Linked DNA regions of Homo sapiens: region 2 is linked to region 1. The links are contacts of gene promoters, found by promoter capture Hi-C in human tissues and cell types (Jung and others, 2019). All regions are on one chromosome and are shown on one strand. Each heading gives the region's core, a stretch centred on a gene start or on the middle of the fragment in contact. The rest is flanking DNA. Distances are from core to core; before and after follow the strand shown.

Region 1 (7,416 bases), core at 3,520-6,019:
TTTTGAGTGAACTGCAAATAGCTGGCAGCAGCATAGATTTGAAAAGGTGGAAACAATGAATGATGACACTGGAGAGGGAAACAAAGGCCTAAACATGGATGGTTTGGATGTCACATTGAAAGATCTTTGCTTCATCACACTGGAGGAAACAGGGTCTTTAAAGGGAGAAATATCACTCGATCTATACAGTACAATGGCATCACTGTAGAGTGTTTTGATGGGATATGTGACTGAAGGAAGGAGAATAGGTAGGAAACTATTATAAAAGTCCAAATGAAAAATAATGAAATAGTTCAGGCATGATGGCTCATGCCTGTAATCCCAGCACTTTGGGAGGCCAAGGCAGGAGGATTGCTTGAGGTCAGGAGTTCAGGACCAGCCTGGGCAACATAAGGAGACCCCGTCTCTACAAAAACTAGCTGGGTGTGGTGGAGCATGTTTGTGGTCAGCTACCTGGGAGGCTGAGATGGGAGGATCGTTTAGAGTGCAGTGGCCATACTCACACCACTGCACTCCAGTATGGGCAACAAAGTGAGACCCTGTCTCAAAAAAAGGAAACAAAAAAAAGAGAGAGAGAAATAATGAAATATAGAAGAACATCATGGGTCAGATACAAAAAATATTTAAAAGCTAAAAACCACAAAACCTGGCAAAGAAATGGTTACTTTAGGCAGAGAAAGAGTAAGAATTTACCATCTGGAGGGAAAACAAGTAGCATGGATGCCACCATCCCCCACTCCACATCTAACAGACACTACCTCAGAACTCTTCTTAGCCCAGCACTCTAGCAAGGCATAGAGTTCATGAGTGAAACAAAACCTACCTGACATCCCTGTCTTCTTATGATACTGCCTGTGGCTGGGCATGGTGGCTTACAACCATAATCCCAGCACTTTGAGAAGCCGAGGTGGGCAGAGCACTTGAGGTCAGGAGTTTTGAGACCAATCTGGCCAACATGGCGAAACCCAGTCTCTAACAAAAATATAAAAAATTAGCCAGGCGTGGTGGCGCACACCTGTAATCCCAGCTACTCAGGAGGCTGAGGCAGGAGAATCGCTTGAACCTGGGAGGCGGAGGTTGCAGTGAGCCAAGATCGCGCCACTGCACTCCAGCCTGGGAGTGACAGAGCAAGACTCCATCTCAAAAAAAAAAAAGGAATGATACTGCCTGTGAGATGGTGTGAAAAATAAAATTGTTTTTTATTATTTTAAAATATAATTGCTTTGCTGATACAATAAAGTCAATAACTTTGAGTGTAAAGCGAAAGAACTGTCCCAGAAGAAAAATTCCTTGCCAAAACAACTAACTCATCTCTCCCATTGATTTTATTTTATTTTTTTTTGAGACGGAGTCTCACTCTGTCACCCAGGCTAGAGTGCAGTGGCGCAATCTTGGCTCACTGCAAGCTCCGCCTCCTGGGTTCACGCCATTCTCCTGCCTCAGCCTCCCAAGTAGCTGGGACTACAGGCGCCCACCACCACGCCCAGCTAATTTTTTGTATTTTTTGTAGAGACGGGGTTTCACCGTGTTAGCCAGGATGGTCTCGATCTCCTGACCTCGTGATCTGCCTGCCTTGGCCTCCCAAAGTGCTAGGATTACAGACGTGAGCCACTGTGCCCAGCCTCCACATTGATTTCCGTGCTCTCCATTCTGGGTCCCTATGGGGTAGCCAGAATGATCTTTCCAAACACAAATCTGTTTCATCTTACTTTCTCACTTAAAACCCTACAATTGGCCAGGTGTGGTGGCTCACGCCTGTAATCCTAGCACTTTGGGAGGCTGAGGTGGGTGGATCACCTGAGGTCAGGAGTTTGAAACCAGCCTAGCCAACATGGTGAAACCCCGTCTCTACTAAAAATACAAAAAATTAGCCAGGCGTGGTGGCAGGCGCCTATAATCCCAGCTACTGGGGAGGCTGAGGCAGGAGAATCACTTGAACCCGGGATGTGAAAGTTGCAGTGAGCCACCAAGATTACAACATTGCAGCAAAACTCCATCTCAAAACAAAAACAAAAAACCCTATAATGGCTATCTACTGCTCTTAGGATAAAAACCAAAATTTATAACAAGGTCTGCTACGTCCTACATAATCCAGCCTTAAACTATATATACAGCCTTATCATAGAGAAGCAGAATAGCACAAGTTCTGGAGTCTGACCACCTGGATTTGAATCCAGTCTTTGTCATTTACTACTAACTGTGATCTGTGGTAAACTATTTGGCTTTTTTGAGCTTTGGTTTCCTCATCTGTAAAATGGGGATAATAATATGGTGGTAAGAATGGTGCCTGACACACTCTTAAGCATATATAAATATTAAGTTAATAATGTCACATATGATTATGATATAATATATACTACATACTGATATACTAATGCCAGCTATTTTTATTGTTGTTGTTTTAATCATTATCATCATCACCATTTTCATACCTTTTCTGTTCCAGGCTCACTGTTCCTGCAGGTCTTAAAAAGAACCATGCATCTTTCCAACTCAGGGCTTTCCTATTCACAGTTCCCTCTGTCTGTAATACTCTTCTCCATACCCTTTGCCTAATCAATTCATTCTTCATAATTCAGCTTACACATCCTTCCCTTAGAGAGGCCTTCCCTAGCCATCCCCAGGCAGACCACAACCAAAACTAGGTCAGATTCCCCATTTTAGGCTTTTCTTCCAGAGTACTTGTCATAGTTTGTAATTATATATATTACTTGACCAATACTTTTGTAATCTCTGCCTCCTCTACTAACATATAAGCTCTACAAGGGAAGGGACTAAGCTGACTTTGCTCAATCCTGGATCCCCAGAGACTAGCACAGACCACAAATTCTTAACAGAATAAAGGAAAGTACTACCAGATACAAGAGAATTTTTTTTAAGTGACAAGTATGGAAAAATGGTAAATATATTACTTTCCTTCCACACACAAAAAAATCATGTAGTTATAGCTTTCATTCAAAGAGCAAAAAACCAGCCAGGAATGGTGGCTCATGCCTGTAATCCCAGAACTTTGGGAGGCCAAGGTGGGTGGATTGCTTGAGCTCAGGAGTTTGAGACCAGCCTGGGAAACATGGCCAAACCCCGTCTCTACCAAAAATACAAAAAAATAGTTGAGCATGTTGGTGTGTGCCCTGTGGTCCCAGCTACACAGGAGGCTGAGGTGGGAAGATCACTTGAGCCTGGGAGGTGGAGGCTGCAGTGAGCTAAGGAGATCGCACCACTGCACTACACCCTCAGCGACAGCGAGAGCCTGTCTCAGTTTGGGTTATTTTAAACTTACAAACCAGAAGCCGTTTAACTAAAATTTTTCAGTTGACCAGATGGAAAAGAAGGAATTTTTTTAAATTTTTAAATGAAGATGAAATGCTTACTTGAGCATTGTCTGGTTCTTCTTTAATTTTGTCCAGAAGCTCCTGCTGTGGTACCACTGCTTTGCCACATTCACCATCCAAAGGTTCTTTCATTCTAATTTTTTACCTCAAAGAGTGTCTCAGGCTCAAACGAATAGATTTCTTCTTGGTAATGGATAGTTGGACACCTAAAATACATACTCAGGCTTATTCTTTTTTCTTCAGGCTTATCTATATGAAAGAAAAACTTTGTGTTGAGTGCATGAGGCTTCACGGCTCGGCATTTGAAAAACAACTCTTCTGGGGCCACAACTAACTTTTTTCTTTCTTCCTGCTTTCTGTTCCTTCAGTAGCTACATAAGAAAACAGTTTTGGGGCAACAGCTCCCACTTCTCTAATATCTTTAAAGACACACAACACACTCTGGTTTTTTCCTATGTTGAAGGTTATTGAAGGGAATTAGACCAGCAGACCAAGACGTGGGAGGAAGTAATAAACTCTGAGAAGAACGGACTCAAGAAATAGTTTCTGACCCCATAAGAATCAGTACTTAGAGGCCCACGTCGGCTTTTATTTCTCAAAGAGGGGCACAACAACCTCCCGGCCCTGACCTATAACTCAACCTTCACTGGAAGCCTCCCTAAGGGCCCCATTTCTCGGCCTAACGCTAGATGTGAGCTCAAGATGCCATCCATCGCAGGCGAACAACAGGAACGCCCTTACTGAAAGTGAGTCACCTGCCTCTTTCAAGGTCTCCGTGTGAGGGGTGGGGGGCATCAAGCCCCTCAGAGCCCCGCTTCACAATCGCCTTCCTGTAGAAAAGAAACTCAATTGGCCATTCAGTAAATTCCCTTCCCCTAAAAGTCAAAGAACTAAACGGGACGAATTAAACCTAAAACAAAAAGCTCTTCAAAGTTGTCTTTATCCGAATAGTCCGGGATGGAAACGGACAACTGGTTGAAAAGCCTGTTCCAAAGAAGAAATGAGAACTTTTGCGCACTCGCCACAAAATATCTACGGGCGCTCATCCCTCCTCTGAGAACCGCACGCTTTCCGAAATTCTCCTTCCCACCAAGAATTCCCACTCCCATCATTGAGGACTAACGAGGCAATGTGGTCTCCGACTGAGAGCGGTGGACTAGCCAGTGAATGTCAACGCGTCCCTAAGGCGATATCCGCAGCCGCCCCAGCCGCGTAGCCCACCTGGCACCGCCCCCGCCGCAACGCCTCGTCACGTGGTGTGGCCTCCGCCCCGCCGTCCCGCCCACTACCACTGCGGCCGCACCCACCTTCTGTCGCCTCCCTGCTACCGGAGGAGCACTGGAATAGGAACCAAGTCCTCTGCATCTAGACAGGGATTATTTTCTCTTCTGGAATTCCGCCTGATCCATCCCAACGCAACGACCGGCCAACCACGCCTGCGCAGCCTTGGTCTCCGCCCTCTTTTCCCGTCAGGCTCCGGACCTGAGCTGAGTAGAACTTCCCAGCATTCCTCTTTCCTCAATTATGGTTCACTTCTTAAAGAGACCGAGGCTCAATAGTGAAAAGGTGGAGATGGCGTTAGAAGGCGCTGTAAGTGCTCTATAGCATTCTTTTTTTTTTTTTTTTTTTTTTTTTTTTTTTTTTTTTTTTTTGGAGACAGAGTATCACTGTGTTGCCCAGGCTGGGGTGCAGTGGCACAATCTCGGCTAACTGCAACCTCCGCCTCCTGGGTTGAAGCGATTCTCCTGCCTCAGCCTCCCGAGTAGCTGGGCTTACAGGCACGTGCCACCACACCTAGCTAATCTGTAGCATCCTTTAGTGCCCATTTCCTGAAAGGTGGCCTACTGAGAGAGCATGATATTAAATAATACTTGGCTTGCTGAGCACTTCACATGCACCATCCCACTTAATCCTCACCATTTAACCCTAAGAGGTATAATTTTTTAATCTCTTGAGATATAAATGAAAAAACTTGCTCAAAATTGAGATTTGGTTTTTTTAATTCAACATTGTTTCACAGATACGTGTATGATTTGTGACTGTTCATTCATTTTGACTGCTGTATAGTATTCTATTTTATGAATATGATACAATTTTAATCATCTACTACTGATGGACATTTGAGTTGTTTCCAATTTGTGGCTATTAGGAATAATGCTTCTGTGAACATTCTTGTCATTGGTGATGTTAAAAGACAAAATTACAACAAATTTAATTTAAATATCTCAATTAGCTTTATTTGTGATTCTAGAATCTGGCAGCACTTCATTCCATAAAATAGAACAAGTGTTCCAATGAGCTGAGCAGAAGAGGTAGGTTTTATAGACAGAGAAGGGCTGGAGAAAGCAGAAGTAAAGAACAAAAAACAGATTGGTTCATTTCAAAGTAACTTTCCAAAAAATAAATAAATAAGTTAATTTCCTTGTAAAGCAGAACCAAGAAACAAAACAATAGAGAAATAACTGATTGGTTAACATCAGGTAACTTCAGTTTATCTTTTTTTGGTAACGATTAAAGCAGAAGAAATTTCATTATTATGCTAATTGAAACTGGCACTCAGGGGAAATTAGACTCTTATTATCTCTTTTTCCTGACTTTTCAGAACTTCAAATAACAACGTAGTTTCCATTTGATGACATGGAACCTCAGTGTGAGTGACTCCATTTTGATTTTTAGTCTGGTTCATTGAGACCTACTGCAGGAGCTTAGCCCGAAACAATGGCCTACAAGTTTTATTTAACAGTGATACATATGCACACATTTCTGTTGGGTTCATACCTAAAAGTGAAATTGCTTGTTATGTATATGTAAAATTTAGGTAGATAATCTCAGGCAATTTTAGAAAATGGTGGTTTCAGTTTATACTCCCTTCAGCCATGTATGAGAGTTTCAGTTTCCCAACATCCTTGCCAATAATTACTGCTGCATATCTTTTTAATTATAACCATTCTGATGGGGGCATAGTGGTATCTCACTGTGGTTTTAATTTGCATTTCCCAGATTATTAATGAGGATGAGCCCATTTTCTTGTTCCTTGGGTATCTGGATATCCCCCATAAGTGCCTGTTCAAGTCTCTTGCTCATTTTTGTATTGGATTGACATTTTCTTATGGGCATATATTTTAGATATGAATCCTGCTATGGTTTGAATGTATGTGTCCCTTCAAAATTCATATATTGGAACTTAAACATTAAGGCGATGGTATAAGAAGTGGAGCCTTTGGGAGGGGTTAGGCTATGAGGACTCCATCCTCATGAATGGGATTCATGCCCTTACAAAAGAGGGCATTCATGCCCTTCACAAAGATTCATTCCTTTTGCCCTTTTAACCCCTCACTGTATGATAACAATGTTCCTCCCAGCAAGAGGACAACAACAAAGTTTCATCTTGGAATTAGAGAGTAATTCCAAGACAACAAATCTGCCAGTGCCTTGATCTTGGACTTGCCAACCTCCAGAACTGTGAGAAATAAATTTCTACTATTTATAAATTACACAGTCTGTGGCATTTTCTTTTGGCAATCAGGAATACACTAAGATAAGTCTTTTTTGAATATACACTAGCCCCCCTCATCCACGGTTTTGCTTTCTGAAGTCGTAGTTACCCACACTCAACCACGGTCTGAAAATATTAAATGGAAAATTCCAGTAACAAATAATTCATAAGTTTTAAACAACTTTCATTAAAGTCTATTGTTATAATTGTTCTATTGTTAGTTGTTAGTCTCTTTCTGTGCCTGATTTATAAATTAAACTTTATCATAGGTATGTATGTATAGGAAAAAACATAGCATATATAGGGTTTGATACTACTGGAGGTTTCAGGCATCTGTGGAACATCTTCGAACATATCCTCATGGATAAGGGAGGGACTACTGTATATATTGCAAATATCTTCTCCCACTCGGTAGCTTGCCTTTTCACTCTGTTATTGGTGTCTTTTGATGAACTTAAAAGACCTTTGTGGCCGGGTACAGTGGCTCATGCCTATAATAGCAGCACTTTGGGAGGCTGAGGCGGGCGGAACTCTTGAGGCCAGGGGTTTGAGACCAGCCTGGCCAACATGAGGAAACCCTGTCTCTAC
Region 2 (6,959 bases), core at 3,686-6,185, 540 kb after region 1:
TGCAGACCTGCTGCCACATCTTCCTCAACCTCGTGGTCACCGCACCGGGGCTGATCAAGTGAGGGGCTCGGGAGAGGTGGGGGAGGAGGCCGGAGGAGGCAAAGGAGGCTGCCCAGTTGCCTCAATTCTCAGTCTCCTACTTTGCCCCCCATGCCCATGGATTTGTTAGTGGTAGCATGGGGGTCTCAGAGTAGACATAGCCAGCCCCGCACAAGGATTCGGCATGCTGGAACCCCCAGGTACTGTCTCAGCATGTCTGCTTGTTCCAATCTCTGCCCCCCAGATGCTATGTTTGGGGCCCAAAGTTAATCACCCTACTGCCTAATTTCTTGCCAAGGGCTTGATTTGGCTGTACTAGACCCCCACCTACCTCCATCCTTCCCCCCTTTCTTTTCCAGGCGTGACGCCTGCTTCACATCTCTAATGAACACCCTCATGACGTCGCTACCAGCACTAGTGCAGCAACAGGGAAGGCTGCTTCTGGCTGCTAATGTGGCCACCCTGGGGCTCCTCATGGCCCGGCTCCTTAGCACCTCTCCAGGTAAGAACTGGGGATCCAGTCCTGATGGGTGAGGACAGAAGACCTGGGTGGACCTCCTGTGTTTGGGGCAAAAGTCACCATTTTTAGAAGATGGTTTTGCAGCATTTTCTAAGCAAGAGGAAATCTTTGCAGTGTATCTCCATCCCCTACCCCCACCGTTCTTCCCAAAATGCTAACATTCTCTTTCTTCTGAAGACTTTTAAGGCAAAGTCTGGTGGGTGTTAAGTACAGACCTGCTCACAGGCACAGGCATAGGCACCTGGAATCCCTGGCAGCCAGAGGAATCTGAATCCAGTGTTTTCAAGGTGGAGCCGCCCCCACCCAGGCCTTGAGTCAGAAACCTGACTTCCTTCCATTGATGTTTTTCTCTGCTCTGCTCGGTACCTCACCCCCATCAGTGACAGCCTTCAGCACTTGGTGTCCCTCTATGCACACCTTCTCCCTAGCTCTGCCTCACTCTGGCTGTTTGCAGGGGGAGGGACGTCCCCTCCAGCCCCTGGCAGCCCTCCGTGTCTCCCTCTTTGGCTGTGGGTGTCTGCTTGGGTCCCTCTGTCCCTGCCTGTTCCCTGTGCCCCATCTGTCAGGTTGGAGGAGCTGAGCAGATGCCTGGGAACAGGGCGTAACATGCCCGTACCTTCCACTGCCTCTGTGTTCCTTTTGAGGGGTTCCCAGCAGGGTACCCCGTCATGGGAAGGGGTGCACATCCCTGTACACCAGGAGCCCACTCTGCACTCTCAGTCCCAGGCTGCATCTCTGCAGCCCCCAATTTCATGGTCCCAGTTCTGGCTCACCCTCAAATACCACCAGGTTAGGTTGACAGCTTCCTGGAGAGCACCTGCAGTGTGAGGGTCACCCCTTGAACAGCCAGTAAGCAAAGCAGGGTCACTTGCTTATGTTCCTCTCTGGCGCCCTCTTCTGGCCCAAGGATCAAATGGTGCAACTCCCTTAACCTGTGTCTGAGCTCTGTGTCCAGAACCCTGAGGGGTTCTCTCTCCCATCTGACCCTGTGACTCACCCCCACCTCCAGTGCCGGTAGAGGTCTTGGTGGTTGAGTGTACCAAGATGATCACATTTAATTCTCACAACAAATTTCTAAGATGAGCACTATTGGCCCATTTTACAAGTAAAGAAACAGACCCAGAAAAGTTAATTACCCAAGGTCACACAGTGAGCATCTAAGGCAGGGTTTCAACGCAGGCAGTCTGATTCCAGGCTGTGCCCTGGCTCCTGCATGTGTCTACACAGAGGACTAGGGAAGGGTCTGACACAGCAGCTGGCCTGTCCGATTCATGCCCCACTCCTTCCGTTACCTTGCAGCTCTTCAGGGAACACCAGCATCCCGAGGGTTCTTCGCAGCTGCCATCCTCTTCCTATCACAGTCCCACGTGGCGCGGGCCACCCCGGGCTCAGACCAGGCAGTGCTAGCCCTGTCCCCTGAGTATGAGGGCATCTGGGCCGACCTGCAGGAGCTCTGGTTCCTGGGCATGCAGGCCTTCACCGGCTGTGTGCCTCTGCTGCCCTGGCTGGCCCCCGCTGCCCTGCGCTCCCGCTGGCCGCAGGAGCTGCTCCAGCTGCTAGGCAGTGTCAGCCCCAACTCTGTCAAGCCCGAGATGGTGGCCGCCTATCAGGGTGTCCTGGTGGAGCTGGCGCGGGCCAACCGGCTGTGCCGGGAGGCCATGAGGCTGCAGGCGGGCGAGGAGACGGCCAGCCACTACCGCATGGCTGCCTTGGAGCAGTGCCTGTCAGAGCCCTGAGGGGTGTCCACCGGGGACAGACCCAGGGGCGGGCAGAGAGGGAAGGAGGGAGGAGGCATCTTCCCTGAAGCCCCCAATCTGGCCCCCCCCTCCCCAGACTTCCTCCCCAAAACACCCCAGCTTTCTGGCTTTTCTGAGGGCAAGGGCATGGTGCCCACCCCTCAAGTGTAAGGAACTGCGTTCCGCCCCTCAGGCCCCCATGGGGGCAGGGATCGGCTTGGAAATCAACGTGGTTGTCCCCGCCAGGCCGGGGAAGGTTGGAGCAGCCCCCAGGGAGGGGGGCACTAGGTGTCATTGTGCCCGATGTCTGGCTCCCCTGCAGGAGGGAGGCTCCAGGGTAAGACAGGGCTGGCAGGAGCAGACTGCCTCAGCCCATGTGCCCTGCCGGCCAGGGCGTGGGCTCCCCTCGGCTGTGGTGCCTCCTCTGGCCCCCCAGGTCCACGTCCTTTAAATTGGCCCTTTGGCTCTTGCCCTTGGCTCCCTTGGGCAGACAGCAGGCTTAGGCCATTGATATCGCAGTTCTTCCTATCAGCTTCAGTGACCCAGGGTCTGAACTGCCTCCATCCTAGGGCAACCTGGGGCAGACAGGCCTGGTGGGGGGTGGGGAAACCTCCTTCCACCTGAGCTTGCTTGAAGGGACCCAGAGTCTTTGGGCCCAGATCTTTAAACCTTTGTGTCGTGTTGCAGCAGAGTGACGATGGGGGTTGGGGGGTTATTTATTTTGCCTGTCCTTATCCCTGCTTGGACACCTGAGCATCTGATTCCTGTCCCCCTGGTGCCATCTGGCCTGGCTGGAGCCAGGAACAGGAGGGACACTTCCCCAGAATCCGCATGTTTCCCCAGTGATTACACTCCACTGCCACCGTGGTGCCTGGCTTTAACTCCCACCCCTGCTATGACTCCTCTCTGCAGAGACGCGACTGGCGGCTCCAGCAGGGACTACCTTTCTTATAAACCCAGGGGGACCACACACACACACACACACACACACACACACACACACACACACACACACACTCTTGATCCCTTGCTTCCCTCCCCCAGTGCGTTCTGTGATCGCCAAGTTCAAAGCTGTGCACATGTGGACACTCAATAAATGTTCATTGGTGACGAGAAGCCTCCTGCGTGGTCTGCCCTGCACCTGCTCTCTCCCTTCCAGGCTCCATCAGTTCACAGCTACCAGGTGCTGAACACATGCCCTGCTAAACACATCATGAGACCTCATTCAGCCCTTCCAAGAATCCTCTGAAGGGTTCTGATTTTACAGACAAAGCAACTTTGGCATGGATAAGTGATTGGCTCAAGGTGTTGCCGCTAGTCAGTGCCAGAGCCAGGACTCCACACAGGCCATCCGACTCCCCAGCCCACATCTTTCACTTGTACAGCAGATTGCCAAACTCATGTTGATGTGGCCAGGCCTTGTGGGGGCTCTGGTGCTCTCAAGTACAGATGAAACACTGCACCCCCGCCCCCATGTCACTGGGTTGCTGCCAAGTGGCCCTGCCATATCCTCCCATTTTTAAAGAAGTCAGGAATCCTAATTTGTATGTGAAACCCAACTTTTGAATGTCAGTAACTATCTTTAATTAAATAACTACTGATCCAACAAAACATGCAGTCCAAATGTAGCTTTCAGGTTACCAGCTGTTGATCCTGTATGCCAAATGAGAAGCCAGAGGGCCTGCAAGCTTCAGCAGATGAGCCAAGTACCCACTATGGGTACTTCACCAGTCCTGAGCCAAAGCTGTGAGGTTGGAGCCAGACAGGCCCCAGACCCATACCCTCCGCAACCTCCTCCACCTAGGCCCTCAAACCTATAAGCACGTGCTGAGCATAGCCTATGTGCCCACCTGTGGTTGGCTATGCATAGACAGGAATATTTATTTATTGACTGGTTGTACTGAAAGCCATCTTCTTAGCATGGATTCTCTGGGGTAAATATGAAAAGACATAGAGGCTAGGTGTGGTGGCTAACGCCTGTAATCCCAATACTTTGGGAGTCTGAGGTGGGAGGATCACTTGAGCCCAGGAATTCAAGATCAGCCTGGGCAACACAGTGAGACTCCATCTCTACAAAAGAAAAACAATTAGCCGGGCATGGTGCCTCGTGCCTGTAGTCCCTGCTACTCCCGAGACTGAGGCGAGAGGTTCTCTTGAGCCCAGGGGTTTGAGGTTATAGTGAGCTATGATCACACCACTGCATTCCAGCCTGGAAGACAGGGTGAGATCCTGTCTCAAAAAAACAAAAACAAAAACAAAAAAACTGTAAGCAGTGGCTTCTATGTAGGTCCAAACACAGTGTGGCTGGAGCATGCGAGCCCCTCAGACTGGCCAAACGATTGCAGGAAAACTTACAGCAACTATGTGCTCTGAGACTTCAGGGTGAGGAGGGGCTTGCCAGGCAGACACGAAAAGGAACAGCAAGGTCTGAAGGCATGCAAGCTTGAGAACTACGAGTAGTTTCGCATTCCATGGTGTATAGAGTGTGAAGTGTGGAGTGGTGGAAGATGAGGTTGAACCAGCAGGCATGGACCAGATCCTACTGTGCTGTGCTCAGAAGCTTAAACGTGGAATCATGCTGAGAGATCAAATTGCAGTTTTGTTTTTTTTAGAAGCAGGGTCTCACTCTGTTGCCCAGCCTGATCTCGAAACTCATGGCCTCAAGTAATCCTTTTGCCTCAGCCTCCCAAAGTGCTGGGATTGTAGGCATGAGCCACCATCCCCGGCTAGACTGCAGATTTTTTAGCAGATTGAATGTGATCCCGTTTGCATTTTGGGAAGATGAGGCACTGCAAGAGGAATGGCTGAGCCAGGGAGCTCAGAGAGGAGATGCTAAGTCTGAACTAAGCCAGTGGCAATGAGGCTGGAGAAGATACAGGTAGGAGTTAATAGGACTTGGTGATTAACTGGAAGTGAAGAGGGGTAAAGAGAAGGGGAGTAGAACCAAGGATGACTCCCAGATTCCTGATCTGGGAGACTGAGTGGATAATGGGGCATTCACTGTCACTGGGAACACTGGGACAGAGACAGATTTGTGCATACCATACACAACTCAACTTGGTAAATGGCGAATTTGTGCTGCTCATGGTATATCCAAGGGGTAGTTGCTTTCTATGGTCTGGAGCTCAAGAAAAGTCTGGGCAAGTGACAGATTTGGGAGCTGTCAGTATAGAGGGTCCCTAAAGTCATGGGAGGGACTGAGATCATCTGGGGAAGTGAAAAGAGAAGAGAAAGGTCCCAAATAAAGTGACAGCCACCCATGGTCCCTGCTGTCAGGGTGCTCTCCCTCCCATAGTGGAGAAGTCAAACCCTGCAAAGCTTCCTAATACAAGGCAGACAGAGTTCTGTGCTTAAATGAGGTATGGTCAGAGAGTTCTGGCTTGCTCTTGGTATTTCAGCGGAGTGGGGAAAAGGGAGATCTGAGCTGCAGTTGTGAGATCTAACCACGAGATGGCGCCTTGGCATCTCCTTGTGCCAGATTTCCCCACCCTGCAAACACTCAGCCTGGCCTGGAGCAGGAGGTGATCAAAGGCTGGGAGGATGAGGGTGGCTGTGTCAACAATAAATGAGGCAGATCAGAGTTTTTTCTTAACATAAAATCCAAATGCAAGCTCACTTTTTGAAAAGAGAAGGAGCCTTGGAGAAAAGCAGTATGCCAAGTGTGCCAAATGGGAGTCCACGTATGTTTGAGCATGCAACTCTATGTCAATATATGTCCCATGTTCCTATGTGTACTTGTGTTTCCCATGAATGTCTCTGTGCAAGTTGTGTGCCCCATGTTCCCAAGGCTGTCTGCATGTGTACCCCACTGCACCCCAGGCCTCCACATGTGTGCATGTGTCCCAGGGAGCAGACAACCAGAAATCTCCACCTCCATGCCTCAGAGAGTGAGGAGTCCCTTGGCACTGAAAGAAGTAGTCCTGAGTCTGAAATCATGGGACTCTGATGTTTTAGGGAGACTCAAAGCAGCAGCAGACCATGGAGAACATCCCTCTCCCCAGTAGCCATAATCAAAATCACTCACTTATCAGATGATCTCTTCAGATTATACCTGGGTTCTATGTGTAGATACCCAGGATCATGTTCACATAGAGCCTTCCTAAAGGATCCCTTAATAGGCCAGTGGATTCATAACACCATCCATTGATGTGTTTATCATTTACAGTATTTAATAAGCATTCATTGAGTTCCTGCCATGCCCCAAGCACAGCGCTAGATACATTTTCTGTTTCTCCTTTAATCTTGTGAAGCAGTTCCTGAAAGAGGAAAAGTAAGTTAGTCACAACTGCAGAGTCTGGAATGCTCATTAGAATGTTTAAACTTTTTTTCCCCCGAAGATGGGTCATGGGGAGCCCTAGGAAAGTTTTCAGTAGGGAGGTAACATGGTCCAGTCACTCTTGTGGAAGTTGGAAATTGATCAGAAGAGATATGAATAAAGTCAGGAGACCAGTTAGAGAATTGTTGCAATGGCCTAGATAGTGGTTCTTAAACTTTAATGTGCCTCTGAGTCACCTTAAGGACTTATTAATAACACAGGTTGCTGGGCTCCACCCCCAGAGTTATTGACTCAGAAGGTCATGAGTGGGATCCAAGAATTGGGACTTCTAGCAAGCTCCCAGATATTGTTGGTGATGCTGGTCCAGGAACCACTCTTTGGCTGTGTT

Evidence for each region. Contacts are between HindIII fragments. The study calls those that stand out against the background at their distance.
Region 2: a contact is called between a fragment that was not itself captured here and the fragment with the promoter of ZMYM6 in region 1, in 2 of the 25 tissues and cell types used here (aorta and lymphoblastoid cells).

What each region holds. Positions count from the first base shown.
Region 1 is chr1:35,027,176-35,034,591 of GRCh38, forward strand. It overlaps ZMYM6 (zinc finger MYM-type containing 6), which reads right to left and starts at 4,770. Exons shown (of 16, transcript NM_007167.4): 1 at 4,640-4,770; 2 at 3,372-3,538. The coding sequence starts at 3,464. It overlaps LOC124903990 (a long non-coding RNA gene), which reads left to right and starts at 5,545. Exons shown (of 2, transcript XR_007065739.1): 1 at 5,545-5,982. RefSeq lists enhancers at 4,072-4,598, 4,599-5,123, 4,780-4,959 and a silencer at 4,490-4,609. The HindIII fragment of the contact is 33,615 bases long and covers 1-7,416 here.
Region 2 is chr1:35,563,369-35,570,327 of GRCh38, forward strand. It overlaps NCDN (neurochondrin), which reads left to right. Exons shown (of 7, transcript NM_014284.3): 5 at 1-58; 6 at 399-541; 7 at 1,859-3,411. The coding sequence ends at 2,295. It overlaps TFAP2E-AS1 (TFAP2E antisense RNA 1), which reads right to left. Exons shown (of 3, transcript NR_183387.1): 3 at 6,443-6,551. Among named protein-coding and RNA genes, the nearest start is that of TFAP2E, 6.5 kb to the right of the region's middle. RefSeq lists a silencer at 6,849-6,950. The HindIII fragment of the contact is 6,197 bases long and covers 1,838-6,959 here.